2 separate regions of the Homo sapiens genome follow, and region 2 is linked to region 1. Evidence: promoter capture Hi-C in human tissues and cell types (Jung and others, 2019). All regions are on one chromosome and are shown on one strand. Each heading gives the region's core, a stretch centred on a gene start or on the middle of the fragment in contact. The rest is flanking DNA. Distances are from core to core; before and after follow the strand shown. Region 1 overlaps DLC1 (DLC1 Rho GTPase activating protein). Region 2 holds the start of DLC1 (DLC1 Rho GTPase activating protein).

Region 1 (6,055 bases), core at 1,009-3,508:
AGCTAAGACCTCATTCTTTACACGTGGAGCTCCAGCGAAGTTTGTGAAGGAGAGAGAAGATTAATACTGTAACTCAGAAAGTTTGATGAGCCAGGATTGATGGACAGATTCTCTTAAGAGAGGGTTGTTTACAGACCCAGAGTTTTATTAATACTTAGATTAGAGAGAAAGTAATGGTGTGAATCGGGGAATGAAACTGTGTGACTCGCATGTAGATATAGGTTCATTTCACATTAAAAAAATAAAAATAATTGATTTTTAAAAATCAGTACGTACATTGGATTGTTAGTACTTTCTCTTGACCTATGAATTGGAAAGTGTAGGCGTGAGGTCAACAAGTATTCCATTTTCTAAAAAATATGTGACAACTTTTTACAGTTTTCCAATTCTGATTTCTACAAAGCAGTGGGTTAGGGTCTCATTTGAATGCAGCCTAAGTTTTCAGAGTGGACTCTTTGTGTTGGTAAAATAGTCATATGCTTGTCTATTTCCCATGGTTTCATATCAAAAGGAAAGACAAATTGTCATTTTTTTTTAGGGTGAAGAAGAGAAAGGATAAGATGACTAGATCTCTGCTGTTTGGGGAGTACTGTGTTTTAGCCATTGTATAAACTGTTAATTAAATTATCTGCTGAAGAAGCAAACCTTTGCCTGTTTACATTCTTTCTAACTAAGTGGCCCTAAGAGTGACTATTTTGACACAGCTTTTCTGATCAGTTTATGATCATTTGGAGTCATTTTATTTGTTAGACAGGGCCATTAGAAAATAAGAGAGACAGCCAGGCACAGTGGCTCCTGCCTCTATCTCAGCTACTTGGGAGGCGGAGGTGGGAGGATCATTTGAGCCCGGAAGGTCGATGCTGCAGTGAGCTAGGATCATAACACTGCCCTTTAGCCTAGGTGACTGAGCAAGACTCTGTCTCAAAAAAAAAAAAAAAAAAAAAAAGAAAGAGAACAAGAAGACAGGAATATGCATTTTTGTGTTGCTGAAATCACATGGGACCTTAAATAAATACTTTGTAAAGTTATTATATAAAAAATATAAAGATTGCTTAAAAAACTAGTATCTTACATCTTCCATGCCTCTTGGCATGAAACTATTTCTCTTAGTAAAGCAGGAGCATGCTCTGGCAGGATTGGCTAGTGAATTGGTATCTAATTAAGGCTTTTGTATGTGGGCTCACCTACTGCCGTGTCTGACTATCGTCAAAAAAGGGCGGGCACTGAGAATTTTTGGTTACTCACCACTTATTAAGTTAAATATTAAGAAAGCAAGCACATTTACTTTTTAACAATCTATTGTTCAATGTCTAACAGTCTGTTCAATGAAAATAACCTCTAAGTAGCCAAATGAAATGAGTTTTTAAAATATTTTTAAAGACAAACAGCCTTTTTTCTTTCCATATCTATGTTTTGTGGGAGGGGGCAGGCACACAGATAGGGCAAAAGTAAGTTCCTCTTTTTTTTTTAGCGGTTACAGAGTCTTACTCTGTTGCCCAGGCTGGTGTGTGGTAGTACCATTGAGGTTAACTGCAGCCTCAGCCTTCCAAGCTGAAGCAATCCTCCCACCTCAGCCTCCAGAGTAGCTGGGACTACAGGAGCACACCACCACACCTGACTAATTTTTGTAATTTTTTTCTTTGGTAGAGACAGGGTTTCGCCATGTTGCCCAGGCTGGTCTTCAACTTCTGGGCTCAAATGATCCTCCCACCTCAGCCTTTCAAATGCAGGGATTATAGGCGCAAGCCACCACACCCAGTCTAATTTCCTTGTTTTTTAAAATAAAATATTGAGCTTGTATATGTTTTTCCAGCAATATAGTTTTCTAGGAAGTGTCTATTTTATAATTTTATTTAAAACATCTTTATTTCCTTGCTGAGACAAAATGTGGATATACACATACGAAAAAAAAGTAAGCTCAAATAATTGACTTTGGACAATTCTACACTTTTATTCAGTGTAAACATCGAAGTTCTTCCACACTGATGTCACTATCATTCGCTCCCATTTCGGTCCTAAGTCTTGGGTTGAATAATGCTACTTTCACTGCTGCACTGAAAAGATTCATGAAGTTAACTTTGCCATGCTATTTATTTCCAGGCTACTGCCATAATCGTTTTTAGTTTGGGTATTAAGAACTCATCAGGAGATGGCAGGTTATTTTTTTTCTCTTTCCTGTGTTCATTGATCAAATTCCCACTTGCTTTAATGAATTTGGATTTGCTTAATTACCTTTCTTCAAAGGCCAAGGAACTCAGGAAATAATAGGTGAAAAAGTGCTTTGAAAACATAAAGTTACTAGACAAAAATAAGATGTGTTACACTTCTGATATGAACTATTAGTCTCCCACTTGCTTGAGAGAGATGCTTAATGAAGATTTGAATCTGGCATAAATTATGCAATGTTGAGACCTTTATAAATGAGTGAACAGACTTGTGTAACTGAGTACTCTCATGGCCTGAGGAAGGTGGGAGGAAGAGTTGAAAGGAATATTCTTTGTGCAAGCAGAGACACTAACTAATGTTCCCAGGACCTCCTCTGTGAGTCAGTTTTAACGGGATTGTAAATATGTGCTCCAGTGAGTTTTAACACAGTGTGTCAGTTGCTCTTGGCCTTTCTGTTTATCGATTCTATCTACAAGATGTGAAACCACAGGGAGGTAGAAGCTTTATTAGCCATTTCTGCCTGCCAAGATTGTGGGATTTACTGACTTCGTGCCCTCCATGTTCCTTGACAGCCTGGGCCTCTCCTACTGGATTAATACCTGATGAGTACCTGATCACGCAACAGTGAAACAACACAAGGTCAGGGGCTTTTGAAACACCCAACCCCTGGGTGTCAGAAAGCCTGTGACTTTACTCAGATAAATTCTATTTTAGCGTGGTGGTGGAGGTACTTTGTGGCCTTTTGTTGAAGTGAAAAGTAGTACAATAGGCCGGCCAGGCTTCAAATGAGTTATTAAATCTCTCTTCAACTTTCTCATGATGCCTTATTTTCATAACCGTTTGTAATCAGAGCACTTCAGAAGCAGCACAAAATGAGAAACTTACTCTCAGGACCCCATTTCTATTTTTTGTAAAGGGAAAATACATCCTCATGTACACGTGAAAAAACTGGAAACGATGCATACAAAATGTAAACCATTCGAATTAAGCGTGTATGTCTGTTTGCTTATCTGTATTTTCTATGGCAGTCATGTTTTGCTTGTATCATAAAACGAAAGCTTATTCAGGAAAAATAAGCATGGCGAGGTACACATGGCTAATTTTGTCTTTCTTCTGTTCTGTTCTAGAAATTGAAGCCAAGGAAGCTTGTGATTGGCTACGGGCAACTGGTTTCCCCCAGTATGCACAGCTTTATGAAGGTAAGCTGGGAATGCCACTTTTTAAAAGTTGGCATAATCATAATCCCTTGTTCGCGAGTATTACTGATCTATGACTTATTTTCAGCAGTTTTATCGTTTAAATGTTTTATTTTTAAAAAAAATGTTGTAAGCATGCAAGACCCCCACCGCTGAAAACAAAAGCTAGCACCTTGGTAACACGCCCATGCCACTCCCCCATCTGCTGCCTGCCACTCCCTACCCAAAGTAATCAGCATGCTGAAGACTATCATTTTCTTGCTTTCTTTTTGTATAATTCTACTCCATTTCCTGAAAAGTACATTTTTACAAAGTAATTTTTACGTTTATAAAAAGGGTAGTGTGTCGTATGTAATTTCATGGGGTTTTTATTTTTCACTTAATATTGTATTGTTAAGATTCTTCTATACTGTATGGGCCTGTTATGCATTTGCTTTGGCTGCTGTGTAATACACCATTGTGTATTACACAAGAAACCACTGTTTATTCATATCCACACTCTGGTTGGTGGGTATTTTGGCTTTCTCTGTTTTGCTTTTATAAGCTGTGCTGTTGTGAACATTCTTGCATCTATCTTTTGTGGTACATGCATAATGATTCATCTTGCTTCTATCCCTAGGAACAGAATTACTGGGTAATAAAGAATATGTATGTTCAATTTTAAAATGCAAGCTTTTCGAAAGTGCCCGTACCAATTTTCACTCTTACCAATCTGTGTATCCACATTCCCTCAACGCTTGATATTGTCAGACTTTAATTTTTGCCAACCAAATGGATATAAAATGATATAGAGATTTTGACTGCCATTTCCCTAATCCTTCATGGTAATGAGCATTTATTCATGTCACTCGGCCACATTTGTTTGCTCACATTATGCTTCTCTTAATGATTTATAAGGGCTCTTTTTATTCTAAATACTAATCTTTCATTGGTCACGTGTTGCAGATATCTTTCCCACCATTTGTAATTAGGCATTTCACTTTTCTCTAGGTTGTCTTTTAATGAATATTATGTTTTCTGTGGCATTCAGTTTTTCAATTGAGAAAAATGGTTCAAAAAAAAAAATAGGATCTGTGCTGAATTCTTAACATCTCATTTTCTTATCAGTGCCCTGGGGATTGCTTGGATACTGAGGTCATTCTCTCAGCTTCTGCGTACCCTGGGGAGTGCTTGTGCTCCCTGCATGTCAAGATAAATAGGCTGTTCATTTATTTATTTATTTGTTTTGAGACGGAGTCTCGCTCTGTCGCCCTGGCTGGAGTTCAGTGGTGTGATTTTGGCTCACTGCAACCTCTGCCTCCCGGGTTCAAGCGATTCACCTGCCTCAGCCTCCTGAGTAGCTGGGATTATGGGCATGTGCCACCATGCCCGGCCAATTTTTGTGTTTTTAGTAGAGCCGGGGTTTTACCATGTTGGCCAAGCTGGTCGTGAACTCCCGACCTCAGGTGATCCACCCACCTTGGCCTCCCAAAGTGCTGGGATTACAGACATGAGCAACCACGCCTGGCCTAGGCAGTTCATTTAAATGGGAGTTTCATTATACTCTATATGAAGTCAATTTAAAATAATTACAGCTATGAACTAATGCATTCCATTTTATGGGTAACTTTCAAACAGAGGTTGGGTGAATAGCAAAGTGATTCCCAAGTTAGAATACCCGGTCTTCCTTATGTAGCCTAGACTGATTGTGATATTTTTTCCAAGAAGATGGATTCTGAATTGTTTTATTGTTAGACCGTGTAAAATATCTTACTGTTTCTTCATTCCAGAGAATATCTCCAATTTCTTTTGATTAACTTGCATGCTTATTTTGGTGGAGTTACTTGTCTTTCCTTTAGAGAGAAGTTTTAACCTGTTAACATTTAGAAGGGCTTTGGGGAAAGGGGGACCAGCATTCTATTGGATTTTCAATTCATAGCTCTACTGGAGATAAGGAAAGACAACTGCATTGGCAGTAACACCAAAGTGGCTGTCCTTTTGTTCTCCTATTTAGAAACTAAGTTTTCTTCAATTATGCTCGTTTTTGGCATTGATTTGCTGCCAGGTAGCACTTTCTTGTGATATATATGTTTGCTAAGACCCAATTCCATTCCCTGTGTCTCCTCTTTCCTAATCCTAAAATGCAGGGTGCATTTGCACAAGTTACATTTGGGGTCCCTTCATGTTCCCAAGTCTTTTGAAGCATAAGACTACTTTTGGGGTACACTGCGTATTGTTCTGGGCCATTGCCTCCCCCCGTTTTTCCTGCCACTGTGTGCTGGGTGAGTACATACACTATACACCCCATACCAACCCACACATGTCCCCCTGTTAAGCTTGATTTGCGTACTTGGCAATTTATACTTCCTGCCTTTCAACCCACAGTGGAAGTTGAGTTCAGAGAACATCTTCTATACATCAGTAAACTATCATCTTTTAAAAGCCAGTCCTTTCAGAAAGGAGTCCAGGCAAATAAAAGAAAATTACTGATTTAATTCTTACACTCCTCACTTGCATTTAATACCTACCAGATTTTTTAAAAATTGTTAATTTGGATTAGAAAAGGAATCTAAAATATGGCTCTGGGTATACTAACTTAGAATTCCTAAAATAACATAGTTACTTTCTCACATATAGGTAATAGGCATATGAAAATTTCAATTTACATTTATAGATCTGATATTATACTCTGTAAATATTAAAAAATATTCCTT
Region 2 (6,055 bases), core at 2,271-4,770, 400 kb before region 1:
TTGGGAGGCCGAGGCAGGCAGATCACTTGAGGTCAGGAGTTTAAGACCACCCTGGCCAACACGATGAAACCCTGTCTCTACTAAAAATACAGAAATTAGCCAAGTGTGGTGGAGTGCATCTGTAATCCCAGCTAGTCAGGAGATGGAGGCAGGAGATTTGCTTGAACCTAGGAGGCGGAGGTTGCCTTGAGCCGAGATCACCACCACTGCACTCCAGCCTGGGCAACAGAGCCAGACTCTGTCTCAAAAACAAAAACAAAAACAAAAAAAAGAAAGGTGATCTTTAAAATACCATTTAATCCACCTCCTGCTATTCTTCTTTCCACAGAGTACATAATTGTTCCACCACTATAACGGTTTCACATGTATACATTTAACTTGGAGTTCAATAGAAGAGAGAGAAAGATTCTAAAAATACCTGAAAGAGAGATGTAAACATTAAAAAAGGCAATAATTTAAGTGGTAAAAATAATTCTAGCTAATGGCTTTATATGGACTAGCTTTTTGCATTGTGACAATTCTTAGTTATGGAAGCTAAGACATCCTCACCCCGGTTAGGTAACTCACACAGGTCACAAAAGCTGTTAGTTTTGGAGCAGACTCCTATCCTGATACTTTGTTTTCAAGTTCTTAACTGTCCCTGTCCCCTTATTTGATTAGCTGATCCAGTACAGAGTAACAGTCAAACATTTAAGGAAGTTGGTATTTAGATTTGCAAGTAGAAAGAAGGGGACAAATATTTTGAACTCCTTCAGTGTTCCTGACACAATACTAAGTACTTAGGAAGTTTTCTCACTATTTATCTTTACACTCATATTTGGTAAAGCCTTTATAAGACTATAAGATCTGAGATTTGTTTGGAATCAAGCAACTCAACAATGAAAAATAAATATAAGTAATTAAAGATTTGGGAAGTAATCCTATTAATAGAAGAAAACATAATGTATTTTTTGTGTAGAAAAGGGTATGTTTATGAGAAACTTACTAACAAGAGTTTCTAGATATCTAAAAGGCATTTGTGAACAGAGTTTTCTTGTTTTCCCAAGCCAATAGAAATAGAAACAAAACTAAAGTATATGGCGCGGGGTACAGTATTCATGAATAAAATGTAGCTAAGAATTAGCATGATGCTGATATAATATTGAGTAACCACTGTATATCAGTACTAAAGGCAGTGACAGAGATAGAGATATCAAGTTATATTAGGAAAGACATAATATCAGTTCTCATTCCTTTCTTCTCCAGTGTTTTTCTTAGGGAAATAAACATAAATACACAAATATTTCTGCATATAAATTTCATCCTGCTTTCCAATCTATAAGTTATGTGAAATTGTCTCTATTTTTAAAGAGAAACTATTAGAGTTTAAGAAGTCTTCCCAATTTAATAAAGAAATTAAGTGGAAGTCAAGGAAGGCAGTTTATGGAGAAAAAATTAAAGCACAAAGCTTGGAGCTAGAATATCTGAGTTCCAGTGTGGACCTGGGCACTTTGTATCATTTGACTGTGAGAAAATTGCTTCTCAATACTTTATTTGTAAAATAAAACATATGAATACACGCAAAATTGTTGGAAAGATTAAATAGGCATACTGTCAGTAGAAACACTTTGAATATAAATATAAATACTTTTTAAAGAATTTATGGAAGAACAGACTTCTTTCTTGGCCTATGGTTGAAGATTAAATTAAAGAAACCTAAATGCTCATGTTTTTAGTCAATAAGACTTTGATCTAAACTTTTAAAGCTGCTTCTGACCAAACGTTTTTATTTGACTACTTCTCATCTTCAAACTCATGCACAGTATAAGTCATTCTTGCCATCTAACATGGGTCTAATATGGTTCATGATTTGCATTAACTTTGAGAGATTTTAGCTACCTAATAAGGAAAAAAATAGTAGTTAGAACCTTGTGCATCTTTGAGTTATCACCTACCCAATATTATCAAAAAGTACTACAAGATAGCCCTTGTGATATACAGGGATGGAGAATAACAGTGAACAATGAAAACTACTTACAATTTCAGAGAAGAACAGGATAGATCTTAGGGCCAACAAGTTTAAGATGTCTTTTACCTCTTTATATGTTACTCATTTTATCACATCCAACTGGAATTATTCTTGCACTTCCTATTATTGAAAGCTTCTAGAAATTTGCAAGAAGCAGATAGACCTAATAATTAATCTGATCATCAGTCCCCCCCCAAAAAAATGCTTGAGTCATAAATAGCAGCGAAATCCATTGATTGTAAATAAAGTAGAAGGGAGACATGACTGAGCCATTTCCACCAAGCAAGATAATTAAAGTCAGAGATGCTGTTTCCTGCTTCCCTGGTATAAACAATGAAGCTGCTCTACTGGCCTCTCCACAGCCTGGATGTCCCAAAACCACCTCCCTCTTCTTTCCTTCCACATTCTCTAAAGAGGATTCTGGGTCATAAAGGAAGGAAAATTGGTGTAACTTTTTTCCTGAAACGACTTCAGCTTCCTCTGTGTTTGTATTTGTGATATCTTATTATAAGACGAGCTAACATCTATTATTAATTGATGCACTAATTAAAGCCATACTTGCAGTTTCCATTAGCTTATTCCCTAAATTCTCCAGAGTTGCCTGTCTGGTTTTAATCAAAACCAAATGGTAGTCCAAATTCCCAACCTGGAGCAGCTAGGAGGAAGTCATTCAAGGGAGGCACAAGAAAGCAGAAAAGATAAACAGATGATAGTTCACAAAATTTGTGACGGACGAAGGATGCAGATACCATGAGCGGCTTTAGAGATGTGATTCAGGAACGCTGCCATGCTAGATGGAAGCAGTTGTAAGTGTTTAATGTCAGCAAGACTCTAATACGATCAAGATGGAGCCTGTCTTCTGCTCCAGCACTGGATTTTTGTAACTGGAGGATTCTGACTAGAGGTAATGCGCTGCTGCATTTGCCATAACACGAACTATTTTAATTCTGTGAAGGATTCTTGTGATCAGAGAGATCTGGAAGAAATCGTTCTATTAACTGGATGCTTGGGATTTTACTTACAGATGGTCTCAGGGACAGAATGAAAAGCTGCAGCATTTCCAATTTTAAGTCATGTTCAAAAAAGGTTTTGCCATTTAGAAGAATTATGGTATTAAGGCTAAATTCATCTTGCTCTCTTAAAAGATCTTTTGAAATGAGAGCAAGCACAGGCATTTTGATTAAGCTGTGCATATACATTTAATATAGTGGAAAGGTTGTGGATAGAGAGAAAACTACGTTTTCTTTCTTTCTTTCTTTCTTTTTTCATAAGCAGTGTGGGATAGAAAAAGCTCTAGGACTTTATGACTCTACAGCTAATCACCTCAAGAGCTTTGACAAAACTCACTTGAGTTCTGTGTAAAATCAGAACTCCTAAAACGCCCAGGCGGCTGGGCTCTCCCCTCCTCCCCTCTCTTCGTACAGCCTTTCTAGCATGCACACTCCTCAGAGGCAGGAAATACTTTCCAGGCAATCTGGGCCTGGTTGTGGAGGCCCCTTTTGCAAAACCTCAGTCTGAATTTAGTAGACAGAAGTCACTAGGAATGCCTTGACAGGATCCTGCCTTAGCTAAGGCTCCCTCCAGCTGCAGAGGGTGTTTTTGTTAGACTCACACACTGCGTGAAACTGCTCAGAATAGAGCCATGATCTCAACCACGAAATGGGAACTTAGATTTTGGAGAAACTAACGGGGACGGACTTCTTTCCTAGCCTGAGTGTTGAGCAGTGTCATGCCTTGGCGTTTCAGCTCCTCGTTGTCTAGGTAAGACGCTATGGACTATCTTTATGCTTTGAGGCGGTCTTTGAAGAGGCAGAAAGATTGAGATAAATGTTAGCATCTTGCACGGAGTTGGTGACTTCCTAGGTTTTAGAGCAAAGCCATAAAATCAGAAGTGGAAAATGTTTGATAAGTAGAAAATTCTGAGTCAATTCGTTTTAGCAAACTGTCAGTTCTAAAACAGGCTCCATATAGATTTAACTCTTTTCCTCCATAAAGTAAGATTTTATTTTTATCCCTTTTTACGTTTAACTTATTTATTAATTGAGCTGTCGGATCAGTTTTCCTATTTCTTGGCATAACGTGAAACAAATACATTTTCTCACACATCAGTGTGAGGTGTAAATGAATTCCTCCCCTACCTTCCTTTGCCAACAGGGAGAGTAGAAAGCACCCGAGTGACTTGTGCTTAATAATCAGTCTCCAAAGAGTATTTTGTGTCTCATTTAAAACTACGAAGATTGAATTTCTTATTATTTTACCCAAGCCAGTTTCAATCATATGTCAAGCTTCTCCTGTACAGCTTAAAAGGTTCATTTAAAAAAAAAAAGTAAACACGTGAAATTTCAGGAATTATTTCTGTCCTAAATAGTATTTAATCTGAGTTTTGGAAATTTAAATGTCGGAATCGAATTTAGTTTATATTAATTTTCCTGGATTCACTGCTTGCTCCGGTCACATTTTGTGTAATATTTTGAATAACTGAAGTCAATCTCAATGACACTGACACTCATTATAACTCTTTTAAGGCAGCCAGAAATCACTCCAGTCATATGGAAACTGTTTGTGTCCTTACTTATGTAATCGTAAAATTACATTTCCACCTGACTGTAGTCTCTTCAAGGTAATCTTAAATGTTTAAATGTACAATATATTAGAAAAGAAGTTTAGTAATGACCGAAAAAGTGTGGACTTATAATGCATAAGATACTGTTATATTTCTGAATATTTATAATAAAATTCATCATTTTATAGAAATAAAATGGTACATAAAGGGAAGAAATATTCATGTACATTTTCAAATCTATTAGATGAATACAAAATATACTAAGTGAAAGATGGAGAGCTATTTTGACAGTTGGATCATAAGAAATGAAGTAACTGTTTTCATTATAAGTTTTTATATAGTACAAGGTGACCATCTGCTATATTAGCTATTCTCAAATTTTATGCTAGAATAACTTATATTGATAAATTTTAACTATTCACTGACAATTTGTGTTAAAACTTCTTAAATATGAGAAAAAGAATCTACTTTTTATATATGTGGAAGATAAAATACTGACTTATCTAAATTATGATTTAATTAAAATCTCCAAATGGAATTTCAGAGAAGGAAAGAACATAAGAGATGGTCTCCTCTAACAATGGCTTGAGGTTGTCTACAAGAAGCTGAGAAATGGGATTTAAAAGTGACCTGTCCAAGGTCACACCTCTAGCTAATAGAAGAGAGGACAGCAGAACCACAGTGCCCTGATTCATAATTCAGATACCTTTTTATCCCATCATCCTGCCCTCCCATAATAATTATGCATAATGAAGTATGAACATGTCCAGTAGAAGGGTGCTTTGCAGACAGAAATTTGCAGTTCCTCTAATTTAAAAAAAAAAAAAAAAAAAGGTAAAACTGTCACCAATGTTAATTATGTGGGGAAAAAAATCCTAACTTTAAAAAAAAATCAAATCAGTATGCCTTCAATAAACACTTTACAGTAGTAACTTGCTTTATGACTATTTTATTATATTTGATGTTTATGTCAAGAAAATCAATCCATATGCTAATAATTATATTAATTTTAATCTGATGTTTCTTTAAAAATAGGGCTAGAAAACAGCTTTTCTAATTTATATCCTTGTACTCAAATGATCATAATGAAACTGTCCCAACCAATGACTTTCAGAGGCAATTTTACAGCACCACCCCCAGGCATCCTTTCTTCTATCTAGCCTAAATCATTGTTGCTGTAGCTTATTTCAAGTTCTATGTGGGTCTTTTCACTAAATATATAAAAAGCCTAAGTTGACATATAAAAAATATGTTTACATTTCTCCAGCATGTTTGCAATCCCTTAATTGATTTGTATGTCTGCTCTAAGCCTTCTACAAAGTCATTTAATTGTAGAATGCAGAATTTTTACAGTATATAAATAAATGTCTGAACAACGTGGTATAAAATGGGAGCGTGGGCTATTTCATCTGCATCATACTTCATATATGACAATATTTGTTGCTGTGTGTGCTGAAGCAGTATACCTTCTCAGACAAGACCCT

Evidence for each region. The method cuts DNA at HindIII sites, captures the fragments that hold promoters and counts their contacts. A contact is called where the count stands out against the background at its distance.
Region 2: the fragment with the promoter of DLC1 here is called in contact with a fragment that was not itself captured in region 1 in 2 of the 25 tissues and cell types used here (aorta and heart right ventricle).

The regions. Positions count from the first base shown.
Region 1 is chr8:13,112,896-13,118,950 of GRCh38, reverse strand. DLC1 (DLC1 Rho GTPase activating protein) reads left to right here. Exons shown (of 18, transcript NM_182643.3): 6 at 3,294-3,365. Among named protein-coding and RNA genes, the nearest start is that of TRMT9B, 170 kb to the right of the region's middle. The HindIII fragment of the contact is 5,196 bases long and covers 1-4,856 here.
Region 2 is chr8:13,512,316-13,518,370 of GRCh38, reverse strand. It overlaps DLC1 (DLC1 Rho GTPase activating protein), which reads left to right and starts at 3,520. Exons shown (of 18, transcript NM_182643.3): 1 at 3,520-3,769. The HindIII fragment of the contact is 7,641 bases long and covers 1,795-6,055 here.